Regions from separate parts of the Homo sapiens genome. Here all the other regions are linked to region 3. Evidence: promoter capture Hi-C in human tissues and cell types (Jung and others, 2019). All regions are on one chromosome and are shown on one strand. The core of a region is centred on a gene start or on the middle of the fragment in contact, and the rest is flanking DNA. Distances in the headings are between cores, read along the strand shown. Region 1 overlaps SPATS2 (spermatogenesis associated serine rich 2). Region 2 overlaps SPATS2 (spermatogenesis associated serine rich 2). Region 3 holds the start of KCNH3 (potassium voltage-gated channel subfamily H member 3).

Evidence for each region. The method cuts DNA at HindIII sites, captures the fragments that hold promoters and counts their contacts. A contact is called where the count stands out against the background at its distance.
Region 1: a contact is called between a fragment that was not itself captured here and the fragment with the promoter of KCNH3 in region 3, in 2 of the 25 tissues and cell types used here (liver and lymphoblastoid cells).
Region 2: a contact is called between a fragment that was not itself captured here and the fragment with the promoter of KCNH3 in region 3, in 1 of the 25 tissues and cell types used here (mesenchymal stem cells).

Annotation. Positions count from the first base shown.
Region 1 is chr12:49,479,452-49,484,007 of GRCh38, forward strand. All of the region lies in intron 3 of SPATS2 (spermatogenesis associated serine rich 2), which reads left to right. Among named protein-coding and RNA genes, the nearest start is that of KCNH3, 57 kb to the right of the region's middle. RefSeq lists an enhancer at 1-448. The HindIII fragment of the contact is 3,681 bases long and covers 1-3,270 here.
Region 2 is chr12:49,500,276-49,504,678 of GRCh38, forward strand. All of the region lies in intron 9 of SPATS2 (spermatogenesis associated serine rich 2), which reads left to right. Among named protein-coding and RNA genes, the nearest start is that of KCNH3, 37 kb to the right of the region's middle. The HindIII fragment of the contact is 3,700 bases long and covers 1,225-4,403 here.
Region 3 is chr12:49,536,587-49,541,320 of GRCh38, forward strand. It overlaps KCNH3 (potassium voltage-gated channel subfamily H member 3), which reads left to right and starts at 2,444. Exons shown (of 15, transcript NM_012284.3): 1 at 2,444-2,906; 2 at 4,313-4,546. The coding sequence starts at 2,831. RefSeq lists silencers at 1,405-1,524, 2,255-2,434 and enhancers at 1,752-2,563, 2,564-3,373, 4,018-4,067. The HindIII fragment of the contact is 20,416 bases long and covers 1-4,734 here.

The DNA.
Region 1 (4,556 bases), core at 180-2,679, 58 kb before region 3:
CAGGGAGGCCTTCCTGTGGCCTCAAGAGTACACGGATGCCTGAGTGTGCAGCTATGGTTTGGACAGCTACAGCTGGGAGATGGGGGGCTCCTGCCTGCTTCATGGAGCGGGAGGCCTGAGTCTACAGCCACAGTTTTGGCAGTGGCACCTGGGGAGTTCCTGCCCCAACTCAGAAGGGGTAGGGCTCCTGCTCCCCCTGCCACCCACTTTCAGGCTCCACTGAGTGTGTATCCCTGCTGGCCTGGTGGTGCCTCCCTGCTGCAGCCAGTATGATGTGAATAATGTTAGTACTCAACTTACTTTATGTATGTGTAAGGAATATCAGTAGATTATAGCAAGAATCTGAGATCCTTAGAAGAAAGGCTATATATCAAGGTACTGTTAAAATAATGGCAACTTGAGAACTAGTATATTTGGTGAGTTACACAGCACTAATGTAAAGCATAAAACCTGGACTGCCTTTTTGATTCTACAGTAGGATTTACTGTGTGACTTTGGGCAAGGAGTAGTACCGTGACTGATTTTCTCATCACTATGAGATTAAGAGAGGATATTCTGGGAGGGATTATAATTCCATTTTTCTCCTTGCTTGTCAGAGGGAATAATTTGCCATTATGTTAACAAAAGAAAGATACAAGCAATCCAAAACTGTTAAGTTTTTGGTTGTTGAATTCAGATACAAATTCAGTAACCCCCATGAGAATCCTTAGACTTACTCCATACCTGGGTTCCACCCCCTCTACACTTGTCTCTATGGTGAGCAGCCTAGAATTTGGGCATAGGCTTTTCCATGATGGAGATAATCTGCTCATGGATAATTGTATCAAATTCACTTCAGTACCTCTAAGAGCCTTACTGTGTGTTCATATTAGCTCTGCCATACCTCTTTAGATAGCACCCAAGGTGGTAGAGCTTTTAATAATTTTCACTCCATAATAATGTTATTGTGGAGGTCTAGCATATGTATTTAGTATTGTACAGTTAGATAAATTAATGCATTGTTGTTATATTGAGATGATTATTCTTTTTTTTTAATCAGTCTCTTGCACTAGACAGTAAAACTCTAAGAGGGCAGGAAACGTTTCTTGTTCACCGTTGTATCCTAGTGTATCTCAACGCCTACAGCAGTACATGGATGTACAAAACACCTCTTAGAGACCTTGGTGACATTTCTTTTGTGTGTATACCAAGAAGCAGAATTGCTGCATCATGTGGTAGTTCTATGTTTTATCTTTTAAGGAACCAACATGTGGTTTTTATTGGGGCTGTACCATTTTACATTTCCACTAGCAGTGCCCCAGAATTCCAGTTTTTCCACATTCTTGCCACACTTGTTGTTTTCTGTTTTTTTTTTTTAATAAATAAATATGCACCCTGGGTATAAATATAATCAGAACTTTAAACAAAATTAATTCTAAAACACTTAGTACAGTATGATCTTCAGGTTAAATTATAAATTAACAGCAGAATGAGACTGTGTTTTAAAGCTTGTCAAGACACCTGTTCAAGGTTGATTTAATACATGGAATAATCAGGCTCAGCTATTTCTATGTCATTCTCAGTGCCTAAAAACAACTTTTACCTAATTTTTGAAGCCAGCAAAAACAATAATAACAAAACCTGTAGTATTTACAAATATGTCATTTGTACTGTAAATAACATACTTTTTCTCAAATATACCTGAATGTGTGCTATTTGAAATAATTCCAACCAGCCTGACCAACATGGTGAAACCCTGTCTCTACTAAAAATACAAAAATTAGCCAGGCGTGGTAGCGCGTGCCTGTAATCCCAGCTACTGGGAATGCTGAGGCAGAAGAATGGCTTGAACCCGGGAAGCGGAGGTTGTAGTGAGCCAAGATCACAGCACTGTACTCCCCGCCTGGGCAACAGAGCGAGACTCCGTCTCCAGAAAAAAAAGAAAGAAATAATTCCAAAAAAACTTCTGAAATGGTTCCTGATAGAGTGAAATAAATAAGAAAGCTCAACAAGCTCAAGGCTTCCTCATTTTTTTTTTTTTTTTTTTTTTTTTTGGAGATGGAGTCTTGCTCTGTCGCCCAGGCTGGAGTGCAGTGGCTCATTCTCAGCTCACTGCAACCTCTGCCTCCCGGGTTCAAGCAATTCTCCTGCTTCAGCCTCCCCAGTAGCTGGAATTACAGGTGCCTGCCACCATGCCTGGCTAATTTTTGTATTTTTAGTAGAGACGGGGTTTCACCATGTTTGCTGATCTCGAACTCCTTACCTCAAGTGATCCGCCCGCCTCAGCCTCCCAAAGTGCTGGGATTACAGGTGTGAGCCACTGCATCTGGCCTAGGCATCCTCATATTCTTTATGAATCTTGCCTGAGAATTTTTTTTTTACCTGAACACCCAGGATTAGAGAATATTTAGCAGCACTTTTTCCTTAAAAATGTGTTTCTGATAGAATACATGCTCTCTTATCACAGCTAAATATTAATAAAAAGATGAAATCCTGCCTTATTTCTTACCAATAGAATTAGGTAAATCTTAAGCTTTCTTTTCATGAAAAAATAAGTTTAAAAATCACTAAGTATTGATGGGAATTAAAAATTACTTTCTGTATAATACTAAGAGACATTTAGGTGCCAGTTGATTAAAGTAAGGTTTTGAATCTACTTGAGGTGTTGGTTTAAGTTTAAAAAGGCAGTATCAGCTAGTGAGTAGACAAATTAAGATGTTAGATTATTGCTTTATCTTTTTGGTGACCTCATGTCATAGAATATAAATGCAAAATTGTCATTTGTGCCCTCCTGACCTATGTAGACCATCTCAGTGCCTCCCATGCCCTCTGGCTTACTTAAGTTTGGCCACTGGGCAGCATTGGCAGGAGATTCCGAGGAAGGGAGGAGAGTAAGGTAGGGGACTTTTATTCCTCTAATCTTTCTCTGAGGGGTAGCTGTGGGCTGAGTGTGTCCTTTGGCCAAAGGTCACAGCAACTGTCTGATGGCGCTTTCTATACCAGATGAAACAAAAATAAAAGGGCCCTTTCTGTCTTTGGCTCCTGTAACTGCTTCCTCCTCACACTCAAGTCTCAAGTAGCAGTGCACATTGCTTAAAAGCCAGCAAAAACAGTAACAAGAGGTACAGCCCTATCTTGGGTGGTTTCCCTACTCTTTGCTAACACCTTTGAAAATACTCCTATTATTAAACTCTATTAAGATTGCCCAATTTGAGTATGCCATTCGCTTCCTCTTTGGGATCTTGACTGAAATAGCTGCTTTATATATTTTTAATCATTATCCTAACAGTATTCCAGATAAACCCTAATTATACTAATTTATTTTGGCCAATAATTGAGTGTTTGCAGAACTACCCTTTGTTTTTTGTTTGTTTTTTGAGACAGGATCTCTCTCTGTCACCCAGCTGGAATGCAGTGGTGCATTCACGACTCATTGCAGCCTCAACCTGCCAGACTCCAGCTGTCTTCCCGCCTCACCCTCCCAATTAGCTGGGGCTACAGGCAAGTGCCACCATGCCCAGCTAATTTTTCTCCTTTTTATAGAGGCAGGGTTTCACCATATTGCCCAGGCTGCTCTTGAACTTCTGGGCTCAAGCGATCCACCTGCCTTGGCCTCCCAAAATGTTCGGATTATAGGCGTGAACCACCACACCCAGCCTTTCCTTTGTTTTTCTTGCAGTTTGTGTCATCTAGTATGTTGTTAAAGGAAAAAAAAAAAAAAAACAGAGCTAGATAAGAGGCTAGTAATAGAACCCAAAATGCTGTTTTGTGTTCCCTCTTTTCCCTAAAAGAGATTGGTGGTTTGATTCACTAATAAGTGGATTATTGATGTCCTTCATATCATTCCCACTGCTCATTAATACCTCTTTGGGGGAGGATACATTAAAACATTCGAGTTATATCATTTGGCTGATCTATAGGAATTCTGAGAAGGTTCTAAATAGTGCTTTGGTTCTATAAGATCTTCGTTTTTGTAGACTGTGTCTCTTTTCAATTAATAAAGATAATTGGGAGTTAACCATATTATATAGTCATCTAGAAAACTGAAGCTTAAATACTGTTTGTATAAGTGTTACCCGATTTTTCATTTGAGTAGCAGTCTAGAAATGGCCGGTATTAACAAAAGTTAAATCTAAATTAATTCAAGGTTCAAGATTAAGCCATGAAAGAATCTTTAATTGAAACATATCTGTAATAACAGCAAAATAATTTGGAAAGTGTACTAGAGTATTACCGTGGTTTTTTTGTACCCCTTTTCTTAACATTTTTCCTTTTACTTGCCTTGTTGAAATTCTAACTCCTAAGCTACTTCCAAGTACAGTGCAGAGATCAGTAATATTGTTATCACCTGGGAGTAAAAATCTGCCACAGGCCAGACTGCTGAATCACAACCTACATTTTAGCATAAGATTCCCTAGGTGGTAAGTATGCACATCAGAATTTGAAAAGCACTCTAACCATTTCCTGAGATTTTATCTTATTGGGTTAAAACAAAGCTATTGAGTGTTAAAGCTGAAGTAATTTATTGATCACATAGGGGTAAAGAAACTGATTAAATTTGCACATAGCCTTTTTCT
Region 2 (4,403 bases), core at 1,825-4,324, 36 kb before region 3:
TCCCCAAGTTCATTCATTCATGACTAACTACATAGTAGGAGAGACTTATAAATCCTATGGTATATTTAGCTTTCTGCTTTGTTCTATTTCTCTTGGTCACAGTGTGAGAATGGTACAGATAACTCACAATGCTCTAGAAATGAGCTGGAGTTTAATATTGTTTGGAAAGGGACACATAATTATAGAGTAGATCATATACTTTAAAGTCTCCTTTTAGGCCGGTGCGGTGGCTCAAGCCTGTAATCCCAGTACTTTGGGAGGCCGAGGTGGGCGGATCTTGAGGTCAGGAGATCAAGACCATCCTGGCTAACACGGTGAAAACCCGTCTCTACTAAAAATACAAAAAATTAGCTGGGTGTGGTGGCGCGCGCCTGTAGTCCTAGCTACTCGGGAGGCTGAGGCAGGAGAATGGCGTGAACCCGGGAGGCGGAGCTTGCAGTGAGCCAAGATCTCGCCACTGCACTCCAGGCTGGGCGACAGAGCGAAACTCTGTCTCAAAAAAAGAAAAGAAAAAAAAAAGTCTCCTTTTAAACTAAGATCCTATAACAAATGACATGATGTATGTTTTTGAACAAAATTATAAAGTAGAAAAAATCTGTCTTTGCTTTCCTACCTTCTTCCATCCTTTTTAATTTATGCCACTCCAATAAAGTGCCCTTTTATTAATTATTATTATTATTGTTGTTTTTTGAGACAGGGTCTTACTCTGTCTGTCACCCAGGCTGGAATGCTATGGCACGATCACATCTCACTGTAGCCTCAGCCTCCTGGGCTCCAGCAATCCTCCCACCTCAGCCTCCCAAGTAGCTGGTACTACAGGCATGTACCACCACACCTGGCTCATTTTTTAATTTTTAAATATTTTGTAGAAATGTGGTCTCACTATGTTGCCCAGGCCAGTCTTGAACTACTGGGCTCAAGTGATCTGCCTGAAGCTGGGTAATTTATAGTGAATAGAGATTTATTTTTTACAGTTTTGGAGTCTGAGAAGTTTAAGGTCAAGGGGCCCACATCTTGGCAAGGACCTTGCTGTGTCATTCCATGGCAGATGGCAGAAGGGCAAGGGAGCATGCATGGGAGAGCCAGAGAGGGCCAAACTCAATTTTCTAATGAACCCACTCTCTCAATAACAAAATTAATTCATTTGTGGGACTCTCCCCTCATGACCTAATCATCTCTTAAAGGTCCCACCTCTCACCACTGTAGCACTGAGGATTAAGTTTCCAACACACGAGCTTTGGGGATCACATTCAAACCATAGCAATATTCTAATGTTTCCTGGAACACTGAAGCTGTTTTAACTGTTAGATATTAAGGTGTTAACGGATATTTGTTTTTTTGTTTTGTTTTGTTTGTTTTTTGAGACGGAGTCTCTGTCGCCTAGGCTGGAGTGGAGTGGCCCAATCTTGGCTCACTGCAACCTCCGCCTCCCAGGTTGCAGCCATTCTCCTGCCTCAGCCTCCCGGAGTAGCTGGGACTACAGACATGTGCCACCATGCCTGGCTAATTTTTTGTGTGTTTTTAGTAGAGATGGGGTTTCACCATGTTGGCCAGGCCGGTCTCGAACTCCTGACCTCAGGTGATCTGCCCATCTCTGCCTCCCAAAGTGCTGGGATTACAGGAGTGAGCCACCGTGCCCAGCTGGTGTTAACAGATGTTTAAATTCTAGCTCCTTTGTGGGAGGTATTTTATAAGGGATTTTTTGAAACTAGAAAAGACTTAAGGACCATATTAAAATGACAGGAAGACAAGCAGCTAGGGTGATGTTTTGAGACTTAGAACTTGTTCATTATACTTATTTTTAGTAACTGTCTAGATCTGAAATATGACAGGAAGTGTTCATGAAAAGAACAAACCATACATGCTTTCTTGCTGCCTGTAGACTGTTCCCTCAGGTTATACCTAACTGTGTCTCTGTTCACAAATTTAGTCTAGTCACTTTTGCCACAACATATAAGAGATAGAGGAGAGTGTAGGTCCCCTCAGTCCTCCTGGTCTCTGGAATTGCAGAGGAGTAGTTAATCAAAATGAAATAATGCCTCCAAAAAGTTAAATCATCAGAACCAAAACTTACTTTGGGGCTAGATAATTCATCTTAGTCTACCCATGCCTTGTCCTGAACTCTAAGTTTTACTTTTCAGGTTTTATGGCTAGGAATTTAATGTCATGTCTTCTGTTTTTCTTTGTTTGTTTGAGACAGGGTCTGGCTCTGTCACCCAGGCTGGAGTGCGGTGGCACGGTCATGGCTCACTGCAACCTCCACCTCCTGGGCTCAAGCCATCCTCCCACCCTCAGCCTCCCTAGTCCCCTAGCTGGGACTACAAGCATGTGCCACCACACCTGGCTAATTTTTTAATTTTTTGTAGAGATGAGGTTTCACCATATTGCCCAGGCTGGTCTCCAATTCCTGGGCCCAAGCAATCCTCTCATCTAGGCCTCCCAAAGTGCTGGGATTACAGCCATAAGCCACTGCGCCTGGCTGTCTTCTGTTTTTCTTGACACATATTTTTGCTCCTGCCAGATTACTCATTGTCTCAAAACTTAACATTCACATTTCCTCTTCCATCTACTAGTTAATGCCACTTTCCCAGCCTGAAAATGTTCTCCTATTCCTCTGTATTTATCTAAATCCCACCATTTCTCCAAACTTTCCTTAAATTAAGGTCTAACTTCTGGAAATTATTTTAGGTAACTGATTTTTCCCCTTTCTGAACCTCTAGGAGGAAGCACCATGCCCTTTGCACTGCATTCTTGTCATATAAGATATTGTTGGCTTGTTTAGAAAATAAAGAGCTGGCTGGGCACAGTGGCTCATGCCTGAATCCCAGCACTTTGGGAGGCCAAGGCGGGCAGATCACAAGGTCAAGAGTTCAAGACCAGCTTGGCCAACATGGTGAAACCCCATCTCTACTAAACATTCAAAAATTAGCCGGGCGTGGTGGCGTGCACCTGTAATCCCAGCTACTAGGGAGGCTGAAGCAGGAGAATTGCTTGAACCCAGGAGGTGGAGGTTGCAGTGAGCTGAGATCGCGCCATTGCACTCCAGCCTGGGCGATAGGGCGAGACTCCATCTCAAAAAACAAAGAAAAAAGAGCTGGGCGCGGTGGCTCATGCCTGTAATCCCAGCGCTTTGGGAGGCCGAGGCGGGTGGATCACGAGGTCAGGAGATGGAGACCATCCTGGCTAACAAGGTGAAACCCCGTCTCTACTAAAAATACAAAAAGTTAGCCGGGCGTGGTGGCGGGCGCCTGTAGTCCCAGCTACTCAGGAGGCTGAGGCAGGAGAATGGCGTGATCCCGGGAGGAGGAGCTTGCAGTGAGCCAAGATCGCGCCACTGCACTCCATCCTGGGCGACAGAGCAAGACTCCATCTCAAAAAAAAAAAAGAAAAAAGAAAGAGCTAAGTGTAGTAGGTCATCACAACTTTGCTTTGATAAGCCTCTGGTCTCCATGATTGTTCAGCTTACTGATTACTTAGTCACAGGATCTGATTCCATTCGGAACAAGCTTGAACCAGCAGGAAACGCAGTTCCGGGAGAGAGATTTGTGAATTCCTGCTGACTGGAACCCAGCCAGGAGGAGCCTCCTTCAATAAATGACAAATGAAATGGTTTCCTACCTGGGAACTGTGTATTTAGGATTGATTAGCTGACGTAACAACCAGGTCAATTTAACTTGAGGAAAGAGATTACCTGCCCTTTCCTGCTAGTATAAAGCCCTTTGCTCTGGTTGATTGAGTTTATAAACCACCTTATTTCAATGTTCCTTGTAGCCGCTACTTCAAGACATAATTGGCAAGTGAGCTAACTCCATTTGGCACCAAACCAGAGCTTGGAGTTAATGTCACTTAGAAAGACATTTCTGTGTTGGTTATAGCATAAAAAAAAGGCAAAGAGTTCTAACAGATTTGCCCCAGTAAAAGTACATTACCCCTGACAAGGCACTAGGGAAATTATACAGATAACTCCTTTCACTTTGATGCCGAACAAAAACTGACACACCTATAGAAAGGTAAACTCAGAAGCATTCTAATGTATAAAACTTAAAATTTCTTCTTATTGGTGACTTAGCAATAATCATCTCTAGACCCAAGTTTACTTTTCTTGTTAATTAGTAATATTTGTCTGCCTTTCATTGTTGGAGCTGTTAGTTGACTTAAGTTTAAGGATATTAAGGAGGCAGGATATGGAGTGGAACATGAAGCTAGAATATATAAACTCCTTTGGAAGATTGTCCTATAATGTGTTGATGAAAAATGCCAACAGGATACACACTCAGCTTCTCTTTTAAATAAAAAGTTTCCATTTTATGAAAGTCAAAAGGTATTTTTTAAAAGGAGAAATGGGTAAGAGAAAAAGATTATCAAGAAATTTGAGATTATATATCACAGAAAGTCATGTAAGT
Region 3 (4,734 bases), core at 1,194-3,693:
TAACCCTGGCTGTGTCATTTATCAACTCTGTTACCTTGAGCAAGTCTCTCTCTCCCTCCTCCTCCCCCTCCTCCTCTTCTCCCTCTCCCTCCCCTCCTCCTCCTCCTCCACCTCTTCTTCTTCTTAACTTCTTCCTTCTTCTTCCTTCCTCCTTTCTCCTTCCTCCTTTCTCTCTTCTCCTTCTTCTCCTTCTCCTCCTTCTTCTTCTTTCTTCTTTCTTCTTCTTCCTCTCTCCCTCTCTCTCAGCTCTGGTTCCTCCTTTGTGAAATGGAGCATAAGGAGCCCCCACCCTGGCTGTTTCACAGGGCTCCTAGGAGACTCAAAATCAGACAACAAACATTTACATGTTGCAGGTGTCACACACTGTTCTAGATCCTCTACACATACTCACTCATTGAATCCTCATTACGACCCTCTGATGTTATTATTAGCATCCGCATTTTACAGATGAGAGAACTGAGTCAGAGAAGGGTTAATAACTTGCCTTTAAAAATCACACAGACAGGCCAGGTGTGGTGGCTCTCGCCTGTAATCCCAGCACTTTGAGAGGCTGAGGCGGGCAGATCACCTGAAGTCAAGAGTTCGAGATGAGCCTGGCCAACATGGTGAAACCCAATCTCTACTAAAAATACAAACATTAGCGGGGCGTGGTGGCGCATGCCTGTGGTCCCAACTACTTGGGAGGCTGAGGCAGGATAATTGCTTGAACTTGGTCGGCATAGGTTGCAGTGAGCAGAGATAGCTCCAATGCACTCCAGCCTGGGCGACAGAGGGAGACTCCGTCACAAAAAAAAAAAAAAAAAAAAAAAAATTCACACAGACCAAAATTAAAAAAAAAATTTAATCACAGGGACAGCAAGTGGCAGACCTGGTTCCCAAGTGGGTGGGTGATTTCAATTGTGGCCTTATCCTGTCTCAAAGTGAACTGACTCCTAAAATGTCCTTCTTTTTAGTAGACAGCTGGACCGCCGCCTGGAGAGGAAGCCTTGAACGGCTGGGGGAGGGGATTACTTTACAGCCAGGATCCAGCCAAGGCTGGGGATGAGATGGGAGTAGGATCTCCCGACTCCTTAGGGTCACTCCTCAGGGTCACTCCTCGTCCTGGGGACCAGATTCCAGGCTTCACAGGACCGGAGAAGGAGGAGCGCGTCCTCCCTTCCCAAAGCGCCAGCTCATTTAGATACAGGTGCCTGGGGCTTTGGCTCTCGTCGCTGATGAGGGGTAGCATCTTTCTGATGCTGGTGACTGTGAGTGCGTCTCGAGGGATGGGGGTGCTGAGCCTACCGCTTCGCTCGTTAGGGAACAAATTGCTGTTTTGGCCCCGGCGGCTCCTCTGGGCGCGGGCGGCAGCCGCGCTCGCTGGCAAATCGTGGGAGGGAGGAGGAGCGGCGCTGGCAGGCAAGTCCGGGGGACCGTCGCAGCGCGGGAGGCCAAGAAAAGACGGCCGCCCCGGGCCCGGCTCCGCCCCGCCGGGAAGGGGCTCCCTGCAGCCGCCCCAGGGCAGCACCCCGCGCGGCGCCGCGCGGAGCTCTCCAGGACGAGCTGCGTGAGGCGCGGGGCTCGGCCTTCCTCGCTCTCCTGGTGCCAGGACCCGCACGCACAAGGTTCGGAAGTTTTTTCGCAGTGTCTGACCCCTGCCGGTCCCCTGTATTTACCACCTGACCCTCTAGCGCGCTTAGGAGAGGCAAGAGGTGACAAATGCCAGAGGGAAATGGAGGGGCAGGACAAGGGGTCTGGCGCTCCCCTCCCCACCACACACCCTTTCCGCCCACGGGGTCACACGGAGGACGTCTGACCCTTACTCCTAGGGCTACCCACCCTCTGGTTTCCAGGCAGCTCCTGCTTGCGGAGACACCTCATAGGAGCAGCTGGATCCATTTTCCAGAGCGTCAAGTTGAGGATGAGAAAGTCTCGAGGGCCGGGCAGCTGTGCGCGCAGAACCCCCGCCCCATCTGCTTTTAGATTTCCCGGGTGCGGCTGGAGCCCCTCTAGAGCGCCGGCCTCCGCTGGCCGCAGGGCCTTCACCTGCGCCTGTCGCCCTGTCCCCTTGCCCACTGCATTTTCCTCGGGGAGAGCATCTTCCACAGCATGCGTCCCCTGCCCCCCACGCCCCGAGCCCCCCTCCCATTCCGCCGGGGGAGGAGAGGCTGCTAGGAGGCTCTCGGAGAGCCCCCGGGCTGCAGAGAAAGACGCCTCCCCTCTGCGGCTGAGGCCGAGTGAGCCAAAGGGGGCCGGCCGCTCGCCAGTGGTTCTCCGAGGTACGGGCGGGGAGGCCCGCGGGGTGGGATCAGGGCGGCCGCCACCTCCCCGCCCCCGCCGAGGTCCCGAAGGGAGGGGAGCCCTCCGCGGGAGGCCTGTCCCTTTAAGGAGGCGGCCCTGGCTGGGTGTGCCCCGTCTCCATGGTTACCCCGGTGCAGGCGGCGGGCGCGGGAGGGAGGGAGGGAGGCTGCAGCTTCTCCCCGACAGACGGAGGGAGCTGCCGAGAGCCGGCGCCGAGCGAAGCCGAGCGGAAGCCCACCCGCAGCCGACACGCGAGCCGCTGCCGCGGCGGGAGGTGCTGAGAGCGCGGCGGCCGCGGGGCCTGGAGCCCGGGATTTGTGGGCGGCGAGGGCGCGAGGGGCCGCGCGCCATGCTCCGGGCCCCGACGGCGCGGACGCCCCCTCGCGCGCCAGCGTCCGGCGCGACCCCGGATCCCGGTCTGCGCATTGCCCCCCGACGGCTGCGCTAGGGAGCGCGGGGCCCGGCGGGGGGCGGCCGAGCTGGGCGCCCTCCCCCGGCGCGGAGTCCCCGCACCCCGGAGGGATGGGGCGGGCAGCCGCGGGCGCCTAAGATGCCGGCCATGCGGGGCCTCCTGGCGCCGCAGAACACCTTCCTGGACACCATCGCTACGCGCTTCGACGGCACGCGTGAGTCCGACCCTCGCCCACTTGCACCCGGGCCGCCGGACCCTCGCCAGGGCTCCCGCCTTCCCCGAACCCCCAGCAGCCCAGCTTGGCGCCAGCCTATTCTCACCCTCTCCTCCCTACCCGCCCCTCTTGAGGCTGGGGCCATCGTCTCCTGCTAGGCGCTGTTTCCCCGAAGGTTCGAAGGTTCGGGGTCAACACTGCTTCAGGCGAGGCAACAGGGCCAGAAGTCCCTGGGTGTGGGTCCTGGGATGCTCTCTGTTAGCCGGGTCTCGAACCCGAACCTAGTCAGTCTGACCCATCCCACCCCTGCGTCTGGCGCTGTCGCAGCAACTACCCTCGGACTGGTGGGGTAAGGCGAGGCGGGTGAACAGTGCTCAGGGACAGCTGAGAGGGCTCAAAACACAGATTTAGAAAAGAGATTTGCAAACGGAGATAAGAGTAGGCGGCACTCGGGAGAGCACCGTGTGTCCAAGCCCCGTGTCTCATAGCCTGAACCCCCTAGACTTGGGGAGGCCATCTAGCCCCAAGAAGATGGTTTGGGGACTCCCATCAGGACTGGGGAAGTTTGGAGAAGGCGCCCCGAGCTCTGGATCCCCGGTTCTGGGGGCTCTGAGCACAGGGGAAGTGATGAAAGCCCCTCCCTCCTCCTCTCCCTCACATCCCCCGTGGGGCTTCCCAGCTCTCTGCCTAGGTCCTCCTTGGTCTCCGGTTCCTGATAGGGGGTGGGAGCCCAGCCCTGCGCTCTCCCCACTCCGGGCTCCTCCATCTGCTTTGCCAGTGTGCTTGGCTCCTGCAGCCTGCTGATTCAGTGCCCCCCACTCCCCAATACATTCCTGGCTCCTGGCTCCCGTGCTCAGTCACCATTCTTACACCCCCATTCTTGATCACATTCACTAATTCCTGAGCCAGGTCAGGCAGCTAGGGCTAAAACACAGACAGCAGGATGTATGGTGGTCTGGGGTTGCCTCCAGTCTAGGTGTGTCTCAGTGGGAGAAGCCAGACAGCCAACCTGGGTACCTGGCTAGTGGGTGAGCCTGGCAGAAGTAGAGGTGGGGCTGAGGCTGGCCCAGAGCTGGCAGGGCAGTCCTCATTAGGGATTCCCCAATCCCAGCCCTTACCCCACATTGCTCAGGACACCCTCCAGAAGGCACAGTGCCCGCACAGCGCTTCATTCACCGACCTCAGTTCACATGTGCTGATCCTTGAATGTACTCACACCTGCTGCAGGGCACTGACAAACAGGTGACACACACTGATTGCTATTCATAAACAGCCCTGCCTTAACACACGCAGGATTCCTGGGGTTTGGAAAACCCACTCTTTGGTTGCAGGCATTTGAGAAAGGAGGGGTGGTAGGCCTCCTGCCCCTTCACCCCACGCCTCCTCTGAGAAGTGCTCTCTTGCAGACAGTAACTTCGTGCTGGGCAACGCCCAGGTGGCGGGGCTCTTCCCCGTGGTCTACTGCTCTGATGGCTTCTGTGACCTCACGGGCTTCTCCCGGGCTGAGGTCATGCAGCGGGGCTGTGCCTGCTCCTTCCTTTATGGGCCAGACACCAGTGAGCTCGTCCGCCAACAGATCCGCAAGGCCCTGGACGAGCACAAGGAGTTCAAGGCTGAGCTGATCCTGTACCGGAAGAGCGGTGAGGGGCCACCTGGCCAGCCTGCCTCACCTTTGCAGTCTCACCCAGCCTGGCACCAGCCCCATCCACTGTCCCTCCTCCTTTCTGTTGCCATCTTCTCCATCTCCCCATGTCATCCCATCTTCCCATCCCCCCATCCAACCCCTCTTGCTCCATCCCACCTCTTGCCCCGGCTCCCCATCTCTACC